2 separate regions of the Homo sapiens genome follow, and region 1 is linked to region 2. Evidence: promoter capture Hi-C in 16 types of primary human blood cells and fetal thymus (Javierre and others, 2016). All regions are on one chromosome and are shown on one strand. The core of a region is centred on a gene start or on the middle of the fragment in contact, and the rest is flanking DNA. Distances in the headings are between cores, read along the strand shown. Region 1 overlaps SEC62 (SEC62 preprotein translocation factor). Region 2 holds the start of ACTRT3 (actin related protein T3).

Region 1 (4,862 bases), core at 1,097-3,596, 220 kb before region 2:
GAATATATATAAAAATATATTTCATATAAATATGAGATATCATATAATATATATGACATATCATATGATATATATTATATGATATATATGATATATAATATTATGATATATCATATATCTATATATCATATATATTCATATATAATATACATGATATATATTATATGCGATATACATAATATATATAAAGACTTCAAAGAATAATATAAAAGAAATATCTAATTATTTGAAAGTATATTTGGAATTGCATTTTCTAAGAGAATCAAAATAAAATGTTGGGTTTGTTTCCTGGTATAATTCAGAAGACTATTTGGTTCATAATGCATATTTAAATCCACAGCATATTTACAATGAAAATTTATTTAAAGAGACTACTGAAGAAACAATATTTTAAACAGCAAAACTACATAATAACCATAAACTATTGTGAACACTGGTTTAATTTAAAAATAAGCAAGTAGAATAATTCTATTCAGTGGAGCTAAACCTTTGCTAAAAATTTCCAAGGAGTTTCTAAATTTCAGGAATTTGAAAGGCAAAAAGCACCAATTTTATTATGTCTAATGTCAGATCAAAGTTTATGACTTTTCCTTCTTGATGCAGGTATTACACTGACACTAAATTCAAACAGGCTTAGATATTGTTTCTTGGCCTACAAATGTGCCCGTGTTCCATGCAAAACCAGCAGGGGATTTTTCTGCTGCCAGAGGTTACCAAATCAGAGGAAGGAGGCTGGGCGTGGTGGTTCACGCCTGTAATCCCAACACTTTGGGAGGCCAAGGAGGGCAGATCACCTGAGGTCAGGAGTTCGAGACTAGCCTGGGCAGAGTGATACCCTATCTCCCCCACAAAAAGCCAGGCATGATGAAATGCACCAGTACTCCTAGCTACTTGGGAGGCTGAGGCAGGAGGATTGCTTAAGCCCAGGAATTCAAGGCTGCAGTGAGCTATGATCTCACCACTGCACTTCAGCTTGGGTGACAGAGCAAGACCCTGCCTCTAAACAAATAATCTATGAAAGACCCCAATCATCCAGAAATGCGGAAAATTCATTTACTTATGTTTTCCTATTTGATTTTTAAAACATTAACTCCTTATTGCATCTAGTATTTTGGTACTTGGGTGAAAATTATTGATTTTTCCCAAAATGGCAAATCAATTGTTTAGAATCATTTATTAAATATATGCATAGATTATTTAGATGTTGCATTTGTTCTAAGTCAAAATTAAAAAATGTTTTACTGAAAGTATTATGTCTAATAAATGATCTACCACTGCAAAAATATTAAACGCCTCTGCCATAACTAATTTTTAAAGCACATCTATTTGCAGATTAAGATATAATAATGTATGGTATATTTCAAAATAAGTAAATTTCAAATGTCTCACAATAAATGATAGGCAAGAAAGGTGATCAATATGCTAATTATGTTAATTAGCTTGATTTAAACATTCCACATTGTACACATACACCAAAACATCACATTGTACCCCATAAATGTATACAATTATGATCTGTCAATAAAAAATAATCTTATTAAAAAATTTTTTTAAAGATGTATTAAATCCTTTTTCTGCAGACAGAACACATCTTACCAAGCCTGAGTTTTGAGATTTGACTCAGAAAGTAGTACCATATATTTCTTGATTTACCTCCATTAATTTTTCTTAAGCTTTACTGAAGCTCCAAATTACAGTCCAACTGCTCAATACCAACCTTCTTGAGGTCAATTTTATAATAACAATACTTACCAACAGCAAGGAGAAGAATACTGGCTACAAAACAGCCTGCACCCACACTGAGGTAATAAACACCTACTCTCATTTCTGCTGGCCAAAGGGGGAAGAGGGTGGCCGCTATTACTGCAATCACTGGAACAAGAAATGACAAAAGTTAAATTTTAGAATAAAAACTTAAATGGTATGGCTGCACTAACAGAAACATATCCCTGGGGGAAAAACTGAGAAACATAAACACAGTGAAATATAAAATTGCCATTTTTATAGGTAAAAAATGGTCAATTATGAGCAATTTCATATTGTTCAACCTAACATTTTATACTATTCTTAAACTAGTTTTTATTAGTGTAAATTACATATAATTAGAAAAAAATGCTATGTAGAAATTCAAAACTGTTGCCTCCTTAATTTATCAACTGCCCCCTTTTTCAAGCTATATCTACTTTATTTAAAAAATACTAAGATATTTGCCTACTAAGTAAGGGAGCTAAAAGAAACAACAGAACAACAAAGCCAACAAAAAATGATTTCCAAGACCCCTCTCTGGAGATTCTTCTTCTGGGGTGGAGCTCTGACATCCACAGACTGAAAGATTCCCCAGGTGATTTCTGCTACAGATGTATTTTTTGGTGCTTAGGGAAACTGTTTACAAGTGTCTCCAGTTTTTTTGCAAGTAAAGTGGGGACACAAGAAAGAATTATAAGAAATTAGAAGCCTGGTTATTAGGTCTTTAGAATAAGACCAGGATTAAAATTCTAGCTCCATCACTTATAAGCTATGTAACCCTGGGCAAGTTACTTAACTCTTTTGAGGCTAAGTTACCTTATATTTAATAAGTCTCTTCCTATTCTTCAAAGGTTGTTGTGAGGATGAAATGATATATTGTACGCAAAATATCTAGCAAAGTGACTAGTACTCTTATTATAAAAGAGTTATTTTGCTTTTTGTTTTCTGAAACAGAGTCTTACTCTGTCACCCAGGCTGCAGTACAGTGGCATGATCTTGGCTCACGACAGCCTCGACCTCCTGAGCTTAGGTGATCCTCCCACCTCAGCCTTCTAAGTAGTTGGGACTACAGGTGTGAACCACCACACCCGGCTAATTTTTTGTAGAAACGAGGTTTCGCCATGTTGCCTAGGCTGGTTTCGAACCCTTGGATTCAAGCCATCTCCCTGCCTTGGCCTCCTAAAGTGTTAGGATTACAAGTGTGAGCCACTGAGCCCAGCCTTAAAGAGTTATTTTGAATGGGATCCTATCATACCATATTGACCAAGCTTATTTTAACTGCTACCTATTTTTTTTTTTTCTGTTTGTTAAATCATTCTTTCCCCATAAAACCTCCTGGAATACACACGTTAAAAAGCAAATCAAAAACAAATCAAACCCCCAGCACTTTGGGACAACGAGGCAAGTGCCCAGGAGTTTGAGACCAGCCTGGGCAACATGGCGAAACCCCATCTCTACAAAAAAATACAAAAATTAGCGGGGTGTAGTGGAGTGTGCCTATAGTTCCAGCTACTCAGTAGGCTGATGTGGGAGATCACCTGACCCCAGCAAGTCGGGCTGCAGTGAGCCATGATTGTGCCATTGCATTCCAGCCTGGGTGACAGGAATGAGACCCTGTCACAAACAAGCAAATCAAAAGGTATAGAGAAAATTAAGTCTTCATCTAATTCTTATTCCACTTCCCAGAGGTTAAGTACTATTAAGCTTACCTGTATTCTCAGAGACTGCCTATATATAATTAACTAGCTACAGGGACTTTTTTTCTAAATAAGTAAATGAGCTTATACTATTCTTACTCGTCTGTAACTTTCTTTTCTTTTTTTATCTATTCTAGGTATAATATCCTTGCACATGTACGTTTGTGCAACTGTGATTATGGCATAGGGTAAATTCCTTAAAGTGGAATTTATTAGATCAAATGGTATAAGCATTTTGAATTTGAAAGATATTTGCTAGATTATACTCAAGTATAGTCTAAGGGATTTGGAAAAAAACAGATAATGTGTCAATGCACACACTTTGTGCAACTGTATGGGAACAGCCTAGAATTGCTGGGTCACTGCAGACACATAAAATTTCAAAGATACTGACAAACTGCCCTTTACAAAAATTAAAACAATAGACATACCTATCAACTGTTAGAGAGAGCTGATTTTTTTCTAAGACCTTTAATGTTAAGGTTTGCAAGACTCTTAATCACTACAGCTTTAATTTGTATATGAGTGTGATTAAGTATCACTCATGATGATTGGTCATTGTATTTCTTTATCTGTTAACTACCTTGACCATTTTTCTATCAGTTTGTTAATCTCTTAAAAGATCTTTAATATGTTTCAAATATTTTCCTTAGTGTATTATTTATCTTCTGACTTTATTTAAAGTATTTTTAAAATGACAACTATTTTATGTTAAATTTAGGAACATTTTCTTTTACAGTATCTGCATATTGTTTTCTAAATTTTAGATTGCACTTTATAGCTATTAACATCTCACTACTTACCAAGAATTAATCCCATGACAAATGTTTTAAAGTGAACTGGGTCATAGATCCATACATACACCTAGAAGAATCAAGAAACCTCGGTGCTTAAAAGTTCTAATGTCACATTAGAAAGTAATGCTTAATTCTATATTTTAGGTCCCTTAAAGCAGTCATCAACCTCTTAACATACGAGAAGTAATTTCTAAGGTAAATAAATTCCAAAGATCTTTCCTTCAGTAGTAGTGGTTCTTCTGGCGCTAGAAAATGATTATAGGATAACTATAAATTCTATAAAGCACTTAAGTAAATTTGTATGTTCTTACATACACTTAAAAATTTGTTTGACTGGGCTTGGTGGCTCACGCCTATAATCCCAGCACTTTGGAGGCCAAGGCGGGCAGATCACTTGAGGTCAGGAGTTCAAGACAAGCCTGGCCAACATGGTGAAACCCTGCCTCTACTAAAAATACAAAAATTAGCCAGGTGTGGTGGTGGACGCTTGTAATCCCAGCTACTCGGGAGGCTGAGGCAGGAGAATTGCTTGAACCCAGGAGGCAGAGGTTGCAGTTAGCTGAGATCACACCACTGCACTCCAGCATGGGCGACAGAGCAAGACTCTGTCTTGGGGGAAAAA
Region 2 (5,011 bases), core at 33-2,532:
ATCTAAATATAAATTTTTATTTATGATATCTAAATATAAATTTTTATATATGATATCTAAATATAAATTTTTATATATGATATCTAAATATAAATTTTTATATATGATATCTAAATATAAATTTTTATATATGATATCTAAATATAAATTTTTATATATGATATCTAAATATAAATTTTTATATATGATATATAAATATAAATTTTTATATATGATATATAAATATAAATTTTTATATATTTATGATATATAAATATAAATTTTTATATATTTATGATATATAAATATAAATTTTTATATATTTATATTTATGATATATAAATATAAATTTTTATATATTTATATTTATGATATATAAATATAAATTTTTATATATTTATATTTATGATATATAAATATAAATTTTTATATATTTATATTTATACATATAATAAATATAAATATAAATTTTTATATATTTATATTTATACATATAATAAATATAAATATATATATTTCGATTTATATCCTTGCTTAAATATATAAATATATATTTTATAAATATATAAATATATTTATATAATATAACATATATTTATATAAATTATATAAATTTATATATTTTTTAATATTTTATATTTAAATTTATATATATTTATATAAATATATATAAATTTATATTTATTTACATATTTAAGCTAGGAACTACTATTTTGTTTTAATTGCGTACATTTTGCTTGGAAATCACAGGAAGAAACACAACAAAGCATTGCCCAAGGTACAGAAACAATAATAAACGTACTTAAAACTCATTTAAATTCCAGCATTTTTCTCCTTATTTTAGAAGTTTAACATTTCAGAAGCAGACACTGCCTCCCTTCCTGCAACAACTTTCTCCTCTTAAGTCTCATTTTTCCCCAGTTTCAAGGGCGAATTCTAGAACTCCCCGGAACCGCCACCAGTTAACCAGAATTCCGTGGCTTTGGAAAATAAAACTGCTGTTATAGCTCTTCTGGGTATTTGAGAAATGCACTTGTGAAGGGTTAGAGTTGAATCTTTTGATGCGAAAGTCGGGTTTTCCTGATACTGGGATTCCGGGATTCCAGGTGTTGGGGTGGCCCAATTCCTGCGAGAAGCAATAGCGGGCGGTAACATGAGGAGCACGGTGCGTCCAGCGAGTCCTTCCGCCTGGGGCCCTGCCGACCCCCTGCCTGCGCCCCCAGGACTCTGGCCTCACCCGGCCGTGCCGGGGCCTCTGTGACGCGGCGTTCCAGGCACTCGGCCCCGGCCGAGCCCGTAGCTAGAGCGGCTCAGAGACAGGAGGCGGCGGCAGCAGCGGCGGCATGAACCACTGCCAGCTACCGGTGGTGATCGACAACGGCTCGGGAATGATCAAGGCGGGCGTGGCTGGGTGCCGGGAGCCCCAGTTTATCTACCCGAACATTATCGGCCGCGCCAAGGGCCAGAGCCGCGCGGCCCAGGGCGGGCTAGAACTCTGCGTGGGCGACCAAGCTCAGGACTGGAGGAGCTCGCTGTTCATCAGGTACCTCCTTCTCCCAGCAGGCTGCTGGGGCTGGGGAGGGTGGGTGGGGTGGGGGTGGGGTAGGGTGGGGCTGGGGAGGTTGGGGGGTGGGGCTGGGGTGGCTGGGGGTGGGGGGACTGGGGGTGTTGTCGGGGGGCAGGAAAGGACCCCAAAGGAGGTGCGCAATGGGGACAGAAAGAATAAGAAAGCCGGGAGCTGGAAAGCCCCATCCAGCTGGAATTACTACAAACGCACGGGCCACAAATCTCCAAGGGTACCACACATCTAAAAACTGAACATTTTGCTCTCTGTGGCTATACAAATGTATTAAAACGTATAAAGTTATCGAACGAATTCATTTAAGAATATTAACTCATGGTCCCTTTTGTCACTTGGGTTATTCTCTTCAATTGACATTTAAACTATACTATAATGTGGACATTTCCCAATTTTTTAAAAGTCACAAGGTTCCAAAGGACAGAGAAAATGGAAAGCAACAAAAATCGCAGAGGTAGGCCGGGCGCGGTGGCTCACGCCTGTAATCCTAGCACTTTGGGAGGCCGAGCAGGGCGGATCACGAGGTCAGGAGTTCGAGACCATCGTGGCTAACACGGTGAAACCCCGTCTCTACTAAAAATACAAAAAAATTAGCCGGGCGTGGTGGCGCGCGCCTGTAGTCCCAGCTACTCAGGAGACTGAGGCAGGAGAATGGCGTGAACCCGGGAGGCGGAGCTTGCAGTGAGCTGAGATCGCGCCACTGCACTCCAGCCTGGGTGACAGAGCGAGACTCTGTCTCCAAAAAAAAAAAAAAAAATTGCAGAGGTAAGTAGCTGTGCTATTTTTGGCTGACACTTACCTGCTGTGAGAGGCTGTGGCAGTTATTGCCCATAAAGGGATATTGGTAATAAACGCGGGGAATTAACTGAGGGTCGAAGACAATAGAAACTAGAAAAATAAAAAGCTGTCATTGATCTTATTGCTTTCCTTACAGTTACCCAGTGGAGCGTGGTCTCATTACTTCATGGGAGGACATGGAGATCATGTGGAAGCATATCTATGACTATAACCTAAAGCTGAAGCCGTGTGATGGCCCAGTCTTGATTACTGAGCCAGCGCTGAACCCACTGGCCAACCGGCAACAGATCACGGAAATGTTTTTTGAGCATCTGGGTGTTCCTGCCTTCTATATGTCCATCCAGGCTGTGCTGGCTCTCTTTGCTGCTGGCTTCACTACTGGCCTTGTGCTGAATTCAGGTGCTGGGGTTACCCAGAGTGTGCCCATCTTTGAGGGTTACTGTCTGCCTCATGGTGTGCAGCAACTGGATCTGGCAGGCCTTGACCTCACCAACTACCTCATGGTGCTAATGAAGAACCATGGTATCATGTTGCTCAGTGCTTCAGACAGAAAGATTGTTGAAGACATCAAGGAGAGCTTTTGTTATGTGGCAATGAACTACGAAGAGGAAATGGCCAAGAAACCCGATTGTCTAGAGAAAGTTTACCAACTACCTGATGGGAAGGTCATCCAGCTCCATGACCAGCTCTTTTCTTGTCCAGAGGCCCTCTTCTCTCCGTGTCATATGAACCTTGAGGCCCCTGGCATTGATAAGATATGCTTCAGCAGCATAATGAAATGTGATACAGGCCTGAGGAATTCCTTCTTTTCCAATATTATCCTTGCCGGGGGATCAACCTCTTTCCCTGGTTTAGACAAGCGGTTAGTTAAGGATATAGCAAAGGTGGCTCCTGCCAACACCGCTGTGCAAGTTATAGCTCCTCCAGAAAGGAAAATATCAGTGTGGATGGGAGGTTCTATTCTTGCATCCTTGTCTGCCTTCCAGGACATGTGGATCACTGCTGCAGAATTTAAAGAAGTTGGACCCAACATAGTACACCAAAGATGCTTCTGAAATACAGATAAAATGGTTGGAAGAAAATGTTTTGAGTATATGTGACAGAAAACTTTGGATATTATATGTTTCTGGGAGAAGAGAAAATACTTCACCTATTGGGATGCCAATATTTCTGTTGTATTTCTATAATGGGTTTGGGGGATAATAATGGTGAAGCTCAAGAACAGATGTCTATTGAGTAGAACCAAGTTAAAATAATGTTTCCCATAGTGTTTCTTCTATAACTTGACGTTGGTGAGCTTATATTTCCCTTGGAAGAGAGCATTTGTGGTACAATATGCTATGTGCCAAATGAGTGATAAGATTTAAGCTTATTGAAGTTTAGGGAAAGAAGGTTGCTGTGGTGAGGAACGAGACTCCATAGCAGAGGTATGCCATCATGGAAGGGGTGGCATTGGGATGGAGCGCAGATATCCAGGCAAGCATACTAAAATGAACAAGTTGCTAAAGATGAGAATGAACAAAGCATATTCAGGGCATGTTTAATAGACTGATTTTGTTTTTAAAATTTTTGTTTATGTATGTATTTATTCATTTATTTAGTTTTAGAGGCAGAGTCTTGCCCTGTGTCCCAGGCTGGAGTGCAGTAGTGCAATCATAGCTCACTGCAGCCTCCAACTCCTGGGCTCTGCCCTCAGCCTCCCAAGTAACTGAATCCACAGGTATGCACCACCACGCCTAAGTTTAGACTGATTTTGTTCAAGTCAAGAGCTCATATAGAGCAGAACAAGCGCTATGACTAGCAAGGTTAAGTGAAGGCCAGGGACTGAAAGGCTTAAAGTGCTAAATATCCAATATGCAAAGGAGAGAAATTAAAGATTTAAAAGCAGGAGCCATAAGGAAACTATGTTATGATGAATGTGATAGTTTGGAGAATAAATTGAATGAGGAAGGCCCTGGAGATTTGGTGATCAGTTAGAAAGTTACTAGTCCACATATAAAGTGCCAAGTCTTGTACTCAAGATTATAAGCAATAGGAATTTAAAAAAAGAAATTATGAAAACTGACAAGATTTAGTGCCTACTTAGATATGAAGGGGAAAGAAGGGTTTGAGATAATGTGGGATGCTAAGAGAATGGTGGTAGTGTTGACATATAACTCAAAGCATTTAGCATCTACTCTATGTAAGGTACTGTGCTAAGTGCAATAGTGCTAAAAACAGGAGTCAGATTCTGTCCGTAAAAAACTTTACAACCTGGCAGATGCTATGAAAGAAAAAGGGGATGGGAGAGAGAGAAGGAGGGAGAGAGATGGAGAGGGAGATATTTTACTTTTCTTTCAGATCGAGGACCGACAGCGACAACTCCACGGAGTTTATCTAACTGAATACGAGTAAAACTTTTAAGATCATCCTGTCATTTATATGTAAAACTGCACTATACTGGCCATTATAAAAATTCGCGGCCGGGTGCGGTGGCTCATACCTGTAATCCCAGCACTTTGGGAGGCCGAAGCGGGTGGATCACTTGAGCCCTGGCGTTCGAGACCAGCCTGGGCAACATGGTGAAACCCCCGTCTCTACTAAAAACACAAAAACTAGCTGGGCGTGGTGGCAGGCGCCTGTAATCCCAGCTACTCAGGAGGCTGAGACACGAGA

The links. Contacts are between HindIII fragments. The CHiCAGO score rates a contact against its expected background, and 5 or more counts as called.
Region 1: a fragment that was not itself captured here is called in contact with the fragment with the promoter of ACTRT3 in region 2 in 2 of 17 cell types (naive CD4 T cells and activated CD4 T cells); the score reaches 6.0 in naive CD4 T cells.

What each region holds. Positions count from the first base shown.
Region 1 is chr3:169,985,250-169,990,111 of GRCh38, reverse strand. It overlaps SEC62 (SEC62 preprotein translocation factor), which reads right to left. Exons shown (of 8, transcript NM_003262.4): 6 at 4,247-4,307; 7 at 1,753-1,872. Among named protein-coding and RNA genes, the nearest start is that of SEC62, 21 kb to the right of the region's middle. The HindIII fragment of the contact is 1,341 bases long and covers 1,676-3,016 here.
Region 2 is chr3:169,765,832-169,770,842 of GRCh38, reverse strand. It overlaps ACTRT3 (actin related protein T3), which reads left to right and starts at 1,282. Exons shown (of 2, transcript NM_032487.5): 1 at 1,282-1,522; 2 at 2,493-3,922. The coding sequence starts at 1,323. The coding sequence ends at 3,411. RefSeq lists cis regulatory regions at 1,130, 2,487, enhancers at 1,058-1,202, 1,294-1,553, 2,415-2,559, a silencer at 1,144-1,213 and a promoter at 4,985-5,011. The HindIII fragment of the contact is 4,942 bases long and covers 1-3,726 here.